Linked DNA regions of Homo sapiens: region 2 is linked to region 1. Evidence: promoter capture Hi-C in human tissues and cell types (Jung and others, 2019). All regions are on one chromosome and are shown on one strand. The core of a region is centred on a gene start or on the middle of the fragment in contact, and the rest is flanking DNA. Distances in the headings are between cores, read along the strand shown. Region 1 holds the start of HOXA4 (homeobox A4). Region 2 overlaps LINC02981 (long intergenic non-protein coding RNA 2981).

The links. Contacts are between HindIII fragments. The study calls those that stand out against the background at their distance.
Region 2: a contact is called between a fragment that was not itself captured here and the fragment with the promoter of HOXA4 in region 1, in 1 of the 25 tissues and cell types used here (mesendoderm cells).

Annotation. Positions count from the first base shown.
Region 1 is chr7:27,127,274-27,133,355 of GRCh38, reverse strand. It overlaps HOXA4 (homeobox A4), which reads left to right and starts at 2,599. Exons shown (of 2, transcript NM_002141.5): 1 at 2,599-3,238; 2 at 3,785-4,831. The coding sequence starts at 2,623. The coding sequence ends at 4,131. The region is part of intron 2 of HOXA3 (homeobox A3); the gene reads left to right. It overlaps HOXA-AS2 (HOXA cluster antisense RNA 2), which reads right to left. Exons shown (of 4, transcript NR_122069.1): 4 at 4,596-5,156. RefSeq lists a silencer at 2,372-2,441. The HindIII fragment of the contact is 3,192 bases long and covers 862-4,053 here.
Region 2 is chr7:26,445,286-26,451,367 of GRCh38, reverse strand. All of the region lies in intron 1 of LINC02981 (long intergenic non-protein coding RNA 2981), which reads right to left. Among named protein-coding and RNA genes, the nearest start is that of SNX10-AS1, 49 kb to the right of the region's middle. The HindIII fragment of the contact is 4,909 bases long and covers 69-4,977 here.

The DNA.
Region 1 (6,082 bases), core at 1,350-3,849:
GCTTTACTTTGGTGTCTTGGATATTGTGTAAAGGCAAGAGGTATTTTTTTTAAATGTTTTTCAAAAGATTATTTGATTCAATGGAATGATGCTATGGTTTGCAAAGGGAGATTGAGGAAGGTTCAGAAAAGGTACTGAGATTGTTTATTACAGCCATAAATCTTGCAGTAAAATGTCAAAATGTCGGTGTTGAGATAACACTTGGTGGTCCTGGCTCCGTTTGTGTTTATGATACGAACCACAAAGACAAGTTACAGGCCTTGGGGGATTCTGTGTAAGGCCATCTTCCTAAAGTAATAGAATCACACAAAACACAGGCACAGCTAACTCGTTTGGGTTAACCGTATACAAAACAGTGTTTATGTCTCGTTAATACTTAAAAATAGAAACTTGGTACAAGGTTCTGAGGCTAAACAACAGAATTTTGTGTTTTAGTGTCTGTAAATATTAAACAGATATGGTTAAGACCCTAGTACTCAAGGCTGATGACATGAGAAGGAGGGAAGATTTCCTTGTCATGCTTTTTGTCCCCCTGAAACTTATAGGGTTCAGATTTGTAATACGTATGTCTATATATTATTTATATTACATTTTATATAACCTATGTGTATATTATTTTTTCTTGCTAGGGAGAGATATTGGTTCAGGTAGATGTATCACATTCTAAATTTTTCCTCCAGTCTAGAGAGGATGGCTAAAGATTACACTCAGTGTTGATTTCTGTCTGTGGCTCAAATTTCTTTAAAAACAAATTTTCAGGGTGCCTCATGTGAATGGACAGCACTCTTCACACTCATATACACCTAACGTGGAAAATCTCTTTGTACCTCTTCAGGGTGATTCCAGTTAGAAAGCTAATATGATCCCCTTTTTAACCTCTTTTCCTAAATTAGTTTAAAGATTAGTCCCATATAATAGGCTTTATGTGGCTAAGCATTAAGTGACTATCCATCAAATGGATATATTCCAGCATTTAGTAACTCATATGAGTAACCAGTATGAATGAAGATAGAATTGACATTCCTTTTCAAGTGTCTCCAGGCTTAGGAAATAATTTTCCTTGTCTGCGTTCCAGACTCAGTTGTGAGAAGGCTGTTTATACTGCTCTTTGAAAAATCAACTAAGGTGCACCAGCTGAAAAATCCTTGCTTTTGCATGCCAATATGAAAATATTTTTAGAATGGTGACTATGCTAGTTTACACTGCTTTAATTTAGGCTGAAAAGTAGAGGATCTAGATATGTCTACTACTCAGAAAAGAAAGGGAGAAAGCACACAGCACAAATAAGGCATCAGTATTTACTTCAAAGATCAACATTAGGTGGAATTAATAAGTAATTTATTTGTTAATAATGGCGTAATTAGTGTACCCATCAAATTTCAATTACCAAATAGCAGGCAACAGTCTCCTCTCCCTCCTTTCCGGAGCTTCTGATATCGTTAATACGCTAATTTTCAGCAATTCAGAAATTATAGACTGTCCTGCAAATATAACTCTAGCCTCAGATACTGCCTGAGAAAGCAGGATCTAAAAGAGAAAACATGAAATTCTTAGCTGGAAAAGACCCATCAGCGATCAGACCCGGCAAGGTGTTTATTCTACCCTTAGCTTGTTTTTGTTTGGGGATAGTTCTGAAATAGGAAGTTATTGTTTTCAAAGCTCGGTTCTGTGGAGGTGTTGCTTCTATCCATTCCCATCCTTGGGCCACCTTCTCTCTCACAATCGCACCTAGTAAATGCGGGCATATTTAGCTCTCACATCGACAACCCCCGTCAAATTAGATGCTATTACGAAGGTTCCAATTTTTCTTAGGAAAACACGAAACAGATTGTCTCTGAAAGAAGGAAAAAATGAAAAGTGTCCATCCAGTTATAATGGAATGGCCTCGATTTACATCCTTGGGTCGATTTCTCTTAGCTGCCCGCCCACCCTTTGCAGCTTCTGCCAAGCTTCTCAAAGCAAGGGCTCTCAGGCTGACACGCAAGGAGCAGGGTGTGGGGAAGGGGGATCTGCGGTTGAGAAAATGTGTCTGGTGGCCTCTCAGTGGCGTACATAAAAACCAGGATGCCCCTCGGTCCCAACGCCCTTCCTTTCGCCTGTTAGCCTAGAACCCCTGAAGGACACGAAGCCTGACTGGGTTGCGCCCGAGGTCAGCGCTGAGTCGCGGCCGCCAGACAGCCCGAGGCCTAGGCCAGCAGTAGGGCAGGCAGAGGGCTCCCGAGAGGACCTACAGCCTGACAGGGCCTGAATTCCCAGCGGGAACCAAAGCTGGGGGGCTGGGGTCCAAAGCTCCTGCTCCCTCCCCCAGCCCAGGGGCCGGACAGCAGCATCCATCACGCACCCGCGCGTTTCCTGATCCGGGTCCGCGCGCGCGGTGCGCCCATTGGTGGGGGCGCTGCACGTGGGGCACGGGGCGGGGCGCGCGCTGGGCTGGGGAGGAGCGGCTCGAACTTTGGTGGCGGCGTCTGCGGGAGGGGGAGGAGTGGGCACTTGACAGCGGGGGGAGGGGAAGGGCGCAGAGGAAAGGGGGATGGGAAGCGAGGCAGGAGGGGGAGGGGCCTCGGCAAGCCCAGAAAAAACGACAACGCGAGAAAAATTAGTATTTTTGCACTTCACAAATTAATGACCATGAGCTCGTTTTTGATAAACTCCAACTACATCGAGCCCAAGTTCCCTCCCTTCGAGGAGTACGCGCAGCACAGCGGCTCGGGCGGCGCAGACGGCGGCCCGGGCGGGGGCCCCGGCTACCAGCAGCCCCCAGCGCCCCCGACCCAGCACCTGCCGCTGCAGCAGCCCCAGCTCCCTCACGCGGGCGGCGGCCGAGAGCCCACTGCCTCCTACTACGCGCCGCGGACCGCCCGCGAGCCCGCCTACCCTGCTGCCGCGCTGTACCCCGCGCATGGGGCCGCGGACACCGCCTACCCCTATGGCTACCGCGGCGGCGCCAGCCCCGGGCGGCCGCCCCAGCCCGAGCAGCCCCCGGCGCAAGCCAAGGGCCCAGCGCACGGCCTGCATGCGAGCCACGTCCTGCAGCCCCAGCTGCCGCCGCCCCTGCAGCCTCGCGCCGTGCCCCCAGCGGCCCCGCGGCGCTGCGAGGCGGCCCCCGCCACCCCAGGCGTCCCGGCAGGGGGCAGCGCCCCCGCGTGCCCGCTGCTCTTGGCCGACAAGAGCCCGCTGGGCCTGAAGGGCAAGGAGCCCGTGGTGTACCCCTGGATGAAGAAGATCCATGTCAGCGCCGGTACGTGGCGCCGCTTGGGAGGCGCGGGAGGTGGGCCGGGGCTGGGCCTGGGTTCGAGGGTCGGGGTCAGGAGGGAGAGGCTCAGGGGAAGGGGGCCTCGGGAGGGGAGCCCCCATCTGACCCGGGCTGCGGTGAGATGTGGGTATGTGCGCGCCAGCCAGCCGCCTGATCCCAACATGAGAACCCTTTTGTACCCAGGGTCCCTTTATCAGGAGATTTACGAGACGCCAAACTGTTAGGGCAGTAATTATAGCCCCCATAAATTTAATTGCCCTGGCAGAGGCTTCAGGCCATGTGTCTTTGAAGCTTTTCTTCAGCCCCAATGCCCAGCACCATTCTTTATGGCTCTCGGGTGTTTCCCGTTGTCAATAGCCTGTGAAACATTTTCTTTGCCGTTTTATGTATCTTGCGTGAACTTGGTGTCAGGTTATTATATAATGATGATGTCCAATTGCTCTTCCCCACCCCACCTTCTCTCTCCTCCTCCTTTCCCTCTCTTCCGCTCCCTCCTCCTTGGCCTTCTATTTCGGGGTTCTGGGTTTTCAGTTAACCCCAGTTATAACGGAGGGGAGCCTAAGCGCTCTCGAACCGCCTACACCCGGCAGCAGGTCTTGGAGCTGGAGAAGGAGTTCCACTTCAATCGATACCTGACCCGGCGGCGCCGCATCGAGATCGCCCACACGCTCTGTTTGTCTGAGCGCCAGGTCAAGATCTGGTTTCAGAACCGGAGGATGAAGTGGAAGAAAGACCACAAACTGCCCAACACCAAGATGCGATCCTCCAATTCGGCCTCGGCCTCTGCCGGCCCACCAGGGAAAGCACAAACTCAGAGCCCACACCTCCATCCCCACCCCCACCCGAGCACCTCCACACCCGTTCCCTCCTCCATATAATCTTCTAGAGATCTTAACCAGTTTCTATCCCTTACCTGCTTTTCTCTTCTCTTCTCCTGCTCCGTTCCTCATCCACCCCTCCCCATCTGGACCATAATAGACACCAAAACAAACCCAAATTGGTGAAAAGAATAATCAAAAAGAAGACATTATCCGGTTAAGAGTCTGTGCTGGTTGCCACCCAAGAGAGAACAGTTGTCCAGGATGCTGGCTGGTGGAACAACCTGCTGGCCCGAAACAAGGCTGCCAGGTGTGGATACCTGAGAAGGACTACTTGGTATCAAATACTTTTGAGATGGCTACAGTCAGCTAGCTGGACAGCCCATGCTGAGTGGGGACATACACTTGCATCTTTGTTGAAAGCAGAAGAAGACAGACCCTTTCCCCACCTTCCTTACCTCCTCTTCCCCCATTAAGGCAGCTCATCCAAGCTTGTATTTAACTGAATAAATGAGTAGACATTGTGGACCTCACAAGATTATTTAATTCTTAAGATGTGTAGACCTTGATGGTAGGTGTGACATGTTAGTTTTTCTTACTTGCATTTATTTAAGACACTGTTACAGAGATACTGTTGTCCCCTTCTGGGGCACGGTCTTTGGGGAGAGGGGAGTGCATTTAGACTTATGTGGAACTGTACAAATTGTGATGTGGCTACATAGAAAGCCATGTGCTAAGAATAAACTCCATTTAAAAAACATTAAAAATCTAAGATTCATGTGTTTTCTAAGCTTTTCATTAAGAAAACAAAAGTCCTCTGGATTGAGATACTTGACCTTGCATGTAAAAACCTTGTAGATAGCTTGAGCTGGATTCACTTGGATTCTGACGGCTCACATAATTTGTGTGTGAGAGTGTGTGTATGTATGTTCAACTTGAGCTGAACTCTTGTCAAGCTTGGCCTACTGTGGAAAAGTTCCAAAGAGTAGGAAGGCTCTTGAGCTCTGAGAGGGCTCCTCTTCTTCCCAAACTTGGCCAGGCTTTCAGGCTTCAAGTCTCTGTAAGGCATAGAAACGTGTCCTTCCCTGCAATGAAAGTTGAAACCATGCAGTGCTGTGGGCCCAGGAGTTTCTGCAGCTGTTCTACACACTGAACTCTGAGCACACTTGGAAAGAAGTGGTCTCTTTGGTATTTGGTATTTGTTGCACCTTCACACTTAATCTGCCTGTTTCCCAGGAGATAAAAAATAGTTTGTGCAAAGGGTTGAGATTAGTTTTTGTTTCCTGGCTGTTCTTAAGGTCCTCTTCACTAACTACAGACTGGGAATTTTTGTTTGTTTGCTTGTTTGTTTCTCTTTTTTGAAGAAAGAGCTTTCAAATAAACTGAATTTTACAAGTACACTCTCCAATGTCTCTTCTGAGGAAAAAGCATAATATACCCCTAAAGTTCACCCCATGCAAAGTAGACCTGGGAGAGTTTACTGCTGGAAAATAGCCAAACTGGGTCACTTTCCTCAAATGCTTTGTGAATTTTCTGCTCGATTCCAGAGATCTAGATCCAAAAGGCTGAAAATCAAAACCCACTTCTCGATCTCTATAACCCTAGTATTTGTTTACTGATTTAGATTTGATGCTTACTGCAGGGAGTTCCCTACAATAAGACCACAAAAACCTGTGCACACTAGCCCCAGAATATTAGAACTGTCACCTGGCCTTGAAAAAGTGCAACTTTTAAGTAATGTAGTAATTTTAGCATAGATGGGAGTAAGTGCTCACCTGCCTCTGCAATATCAGAGAATTTTTAAACACATTTCTCTCATTAGTGGCAAAACCCTTTAGCCAGTGTCAGAGCTGGTACCCCTTTCACCCCTGCTGCCCTGTGTGTGATACAAACAAGGGTGATCCGTTCTATACCTACAAATCAGATTTGAGAGGAAAGTGATAGATACCAGTCTCTGAAGAGCCAAGAAAATTCGGGAGCAATCAAATACACACTTACCTTCCCAAATCAG
Region 2 (6,082 bases), core at 1,274-3,773, 680 kb after region 1:
GGCACATGTATACCTATGTAACAAACCTGCACGTTGTGCACATGTACCCTAGAACTTAAAGTATAAGAAAAAAAATTAATTAAATAATTAAAAAAAGAAAAAATATATATAGATTTACTTGTAACAGAATGGTAGGCAAATACATCTAGATTGTCTACATCTTTTAAAATGCAGTCTTGGATTTACAAATACGTGCAGATGTCAATAATACCTGACATAATTTTTACTAGTTTACAAAATCATTGCCTACATTACCTTATACAGGTACTTGGTTGAGTTGAATTTTCTATAAATGATTCTTAATAAGTAAATGAGATTAATGGACTAAAAATTGAAATTTGTAAATGCCTCCATTACCTATTCATGCATCATAAGCATTTAGTCTTTTAAAAAATTTAGTAGGCCCTGATGATTCAAAAGGCCTTGATTTCTTGAGCCCTTTGTTTGTAAAATGGTGACAAATTTGGATGAAATGCTGCATGTTGGTAATACTGAAACCTTGCAGATAAAGGGTTATTTCAAACCTTTCTTATGAGAATATACATGCAAACTGTGTTTGTGTTAACTCAAATTCTAAATTAGTTGCAGTGTGAACTAATCATTTCAAGCATTAAAGCTTGGCCTTGGGATGAAATTAAAGGAGAAACATTTAGGCAGCATCATTGGAGAATTACCCTCAAAGTAAGATCACTAAATCCTTAAACATTTTCCTAAGGGAAAAAGTGGAAGTATCATCAGTTTCTAATTCTAAGTAGAAAAAAAAAAATTAGCCTGTGGACCAGAGGAAACAGCCTTGTGTCAGAACACTGAATTATGTTGTTTCTACCTCTCCTTTTCATTGTAACTAATGAATCCTAATATAGGCAATAAAGACATATAAAAGAGAAATCTACATTGTAGGTCTCTGATTTATCATCCACAGAACAACTGAAGTAACTGTTCTGGGATGGGGGTATTACCTGGGTATCTATGCCCCAAATATACAAACCCCTGCATGGCAGGTATTTCTAAAAATTTGTGCACAAAAAAATCGGCTGGGTGCAGTAGCTCATGCCTGTAATCCCAGAACTTTGGGAAGCCGAGGCAGGAGGATTCCTTAAGCCCAGTATTTTAAGATCAGCCTGGGCAAATTAGCAAGATCCCATCTTTATTTTTTTAATTATTAAAAAATTTTTTTAAAAATTTTAGAAAGATGTATTTTAAAAATGAGTATAAGAGAAGCAATGCAGGAGGGAAAGAATGAAAGAAAAACAGCAGAAGACAAAGCAGTAGAGGATAGCACTTACAGATCACTCCTGACTCACCCCTGGAAAACATTCACTCAGTTGTTTGCTGGGGAGCACACCTCCCTTCCTCCCAGGCATCCATTCAATCATCTAAAACATTTACTGAACTGGACACAGAGCTGGGCCCTGAGACTACAGACATGAGTCAGACATGGTCCCTACCCTCCAGGAAATCACAGTCTTGCCAAAATACAAACACAAAAAGTGAACGTCTGAAAAGAGCTCTAAGAAGAAAGTGTCGAGTGCTGAGCGAGCCTAGAAGAGGAGGCTGTTCCTCTGCCTGTGAGGACAGGCGGGAATTGGCTGACCCTGAATGAGGAGTATGCTTTCCCCAAGCAGCAAAGAGGCAAGGACCTGGAGCTGCTGAGGAGAGTCACAGGAGAGGAAGCTCAGGCGAAGGTGAGGGCTGGGCTGTGAATAACCTGAGCAACGGACTGAGCAGTTAGGCTACATTCTGCAGCCAGAGAGGACCCACGGCAGCTTTTAAATCAGAGGAGTGGCATGATGGTGTCTGGGTTTTGGAAAGGCCAGTGGCAGCAGCATGAATCGTATGACCTTGGGACGTGCCCTGGGCAGATGATCCTCTTCCCCAGGGCAGCTGTCCTCAACGTGAAGGCTTTTCCCTGTTCTAGATCAGTGACTTCATCCTGGGATATAACAACTTCCTGTACTCACAGATTCTAGGAATCATTTAATGGGCGCAGTGAGGATGGCTCATCCAGGACCTCAGCAGGAAATATCCAAAGTATTTTGATATTTGACTGGAGTGACTCCATGACTAGGAGCTGGAATCATCTGCAGTCTGGCCTGGATGGCTCAAAGTCCAGGACTGCTGGCTGGAGTTCCTCACAAGGGCATGCTCAAAGCTCATGCCCAGTGCATCTCACAGGGAGTCGGGAGTCAAAAATATGGAAGCTCAGTGTCTTTTAGTATCTTATGTCTGAGAGAAGGATCTGTAAAAGGATTGCTTGCCATATTTACGTATTTTTGTTTTATTTCTTACTGCATCATTTAGCTGTGACCTCCATAAAAGAGGTCTCCAAGATGTGACCTGGTCATCCCTTTTCAACCTCAGCTCCCACCCACATACCCCAAACTCTGCAGCAACCAGTTGCTTGGAGTTGCCCATAAACATTCTCTCCTTTTTCCCGTCTTGCCTTTTCACAGACTGTTTCCTCCACCCGGAATGCGCCCTACATGCCTGGCAACCTCCTACTTCCCTTTCACGATTCAACCCTAACATCTTCTGGTCTCAGAAGCCTTTGCTGAGTCCCCAGGCACAGTTGTGCCTTCCTCCTCCCCACACCCCTACACCTGGTGTTCCATTATATTCTATACTTAGCACTCTGCTGCAATTAATTGTCTTCACAACCACCTCTCTCACTAGCCTATGAGCCCTCAAAACTCTTGAAGGGTGGAGAATCTGTTATTCTTCTTTGTCATCTCTCCAGCTCACAAACATAGTAAGCACATTGGAGATGTTTAACCAATGTGGACTTTTCATAGTGACTTTCAAGTTAACCTTCATGTTCTTACAGCATTTTATAAGGCTTATATTAAGAAAGCCCTCTTCAGCCTGGGCAACATAGTGAGACTTTATCTCTACAAAAAAATTTAAAAATTAGCCAGGCATGGTGGCACATACCTATAGTCCCAGCTACTCGGGAGGCTAAGGCAGGAAAATTGGTTGAGCCCCAAGGGTTAGAGTCTGTAGTGATCTATGATCATACCACTCACTGCACTCCAGCCTGGGCAACAGAGCAAGACCCCATCTCTGGGGGTTAAAAAAAAAAAAGGAAAGAAAAGCCCTCTTAACATCTCATCATCTACATGCAACAATCCTGCATGTATTGGCCCCATTTAGAGATGAGAAAACAGAGATTCAGAGGCATGTGGTGATTTGCCCAAAGACACTGACCAAGAAAGTGACAGAGCTAAGACTTCTCTTCCTCTGCCGTCTGATCTACTCAGAGCTCTTGGATAACATGGTGCCACAAAGTGCCCAACCTCAAGTTCAAAGACTTACTTTGGACATAATTTCTTTCCAGTGTCTAGGGCTGTACCTGCTCCTCTGCATACTCCAGTCCCATTGGTTTCTGTTTGAGCACCATGTGTTGGGGCAAGCCCAAGGGCAGGACTCTCAGAACAAGGGCAAGGGGGAACTGCGGGAAGTCATTCAGGATGGCCTCGGGAAGCCTGACTTAAGTTCAAATTGTGAACAAGTCAGTGAGCTAAGGCTGCAGCCGGGACTGCAGTGGAAGGGGGAGGGATGAGATCTTGAATTATTTCTTTTGCAACCCTGTCCCTGGCATCACTTTGTGTAGCAAAGCTTACCTTAGAGTCCATGTCCTACTGAAATCACCATAAGATCAGATCTATCAGAGCCCAAATTAATGAGATTTCTAGGTGTTTATGAGTTGTCTTCATTTCAATTTAATTTTTCGAACAGGAAATATATTTACAGAGTTTGAAATTCCAAAGGCACAAGAGGATATACAGTAAAAAGTTTTCTTCCCACTCTTGTCTCTCACCACCAATTTCCTTTCTACAAAGGTATTTCATGAATATTCAGGGAAATACAAGCATTTATATATGCATACATACATACACACACATATTCTTTTTCTCTCATTTTCATATGAAGGGCAGACTATTTATACACTGTTCTACATCTTGATTTCTTTTTCTGCTTAACAATATGTCTTGGGATTCCCTCCATACCAGCACACAAAGAGGTGTCTCCATCATTTTTACAGCTGTACTGGATCCCATTGTATGGCTGTGCCAAAATTTGTTTAACCAGTTCCCGGTTGAGGGGCATTTATTTTGTTTCCCATCTGTTGCTATTATAAACAATGTTGCAGTGAATAACCTTATAGATACATCATTTTGTTCACATGGGAGTATATCCATAAGCCAGATTCATAGACTTGGAACTGCTGGATCAAAGGGTGTGTGTGTTTGTAATTTCAATGGGGAGTGTTCCAAATGACTTTCCACAGACTTTGTACTAATTTAAAATCCTACCGGAGTTGTACAAGAGGGTCTTTTTTTTCCACAGAAACCTCTTTTGTACATAAACCATCAGGGATAGTCTAAGGATTCAAAGAAGCCATGAAGACCAAACAACTCTTCTGAATTTAAAAAATAAAGGTGGGGTGGGGCGAAATGCAAATCAAAACCACAGTGAAAAAAGGGGAAAAAACATGCAATGAGATACCACTTCATACCCGCAAGGATGGCTATAATCAAAAATAAACAAAAAGTAAGTGTTGGTGAGCACGGAGAAATTGGAATCCTTCGCATTGCTGGTGAGAATGTACAATGGTACAGCTGCTTTTAAAATCAATTAGGTGGTTTCTCAAAAAGTTAAATATAAAATTACCATAGGACCCAACAATTCCATGCCTGGGTATATACCCAAAAGAATCAAAAGCACATACTTAAGCAAATACCTGTACACAAATGTTCATAGCAACGTTATTCACAATCGCCAAAAGGTGGAAAAAATCCAAATATCCATCAAGGGATGAATAGATAAGCAAAAGTGGTAAGTACCTACAATAGAATATTACTCAGCCATAAAAATGAATGAAATTCTGATAAATGCTACAAAATGGAAGAACCCCCCCAAACCAATTTCATTTACATGAAACATTTACATCAGGTAAATCCACAGAGTCACATGCAGATTGATGGTTGCCAGGAGCTGAGGAGTCAGGGAAATGGGGAGGGATTGTTTAATGGGTGGACAGTTTCCTTTGGGGATGATGAAAATGTTTTGTAACAAGATACAAGTAGTGGTTGCACACACTGTGAATGTACTAAATGCCACTGAATTGGAGTTTAAAATGGATTACAGTTTGTGTCATGTAAATTTCACCTCAACCAAGTAGAAAAAAGGAAAGAATAAAAGTGGAGGTGCGTTTACGTCCTTGTTCCCAATATTCTTGGTTGCTGACTTTCTGAATCCCCCACTTTGTGATCCTCTCCCAGTTCAGTCTGTCTACAGAGGGCCCCCTAGGATGGTTACAGACATCCGCTAATAGCATATGCCAGGCAATGAGCCTGGGGCTTTTATGCATTTTCCCGTGAATTCTTCACCACAACTGAGCGAAGTATCATTATCTTCTTTTTTTTTTTCTTTTGAAACGGAGTCTTGCTCTGTTGACCAGGCTGGAGTGCAATGGCATGATCTCGGCTCACCACAACCTCCACCTCCTGGGTTCAAGTGATTCTCCTGCCTCAGCCTCCTGAGTAGCTGGGATTACAGGAGCACGCCACCACTCCTAGCTAATTTTTGAATTTTTAGTAGAGATGGAGTTTCACCATGTTGGCCAGGCTGGTCTTGAACTCCTGACCTCAAGTGATCCGCCCACCTCAGCCTCCCAAAGTGCTGGGTTTACAGGCGTGAGCCACCATGCCTGGCCCATTATCTTCATTTTACAGATGAGGAAACTGGGATTTGGAGAGTGCAAGTAGCTTGCCCAATGTTACTCAGCTGGAAAGTAGCAAAGGGCGACTGACTCCAAAGCCAAGCTCTTTCCATTAAGCAGCCAGCCTAAATGTTTTACCTACCTCAGCAAGAGTCAAGAGACAGCAGGCCCTTGCCACCCCCACAGGCCATTCCTAATAACTCAGTGACCTGGGCTCTGGGCCAGGCTACTCCTCTGGGAGGCACACAGCTTCTTCTCCTTCTGGGACCCTCTGTATCTAGCTCACTACAGGCATTTCCCTGAAGCCCAGCTCTGTCCCTTTCTTGCCCTCCTATTTAACATAGTGAATGAGTTCAAGGC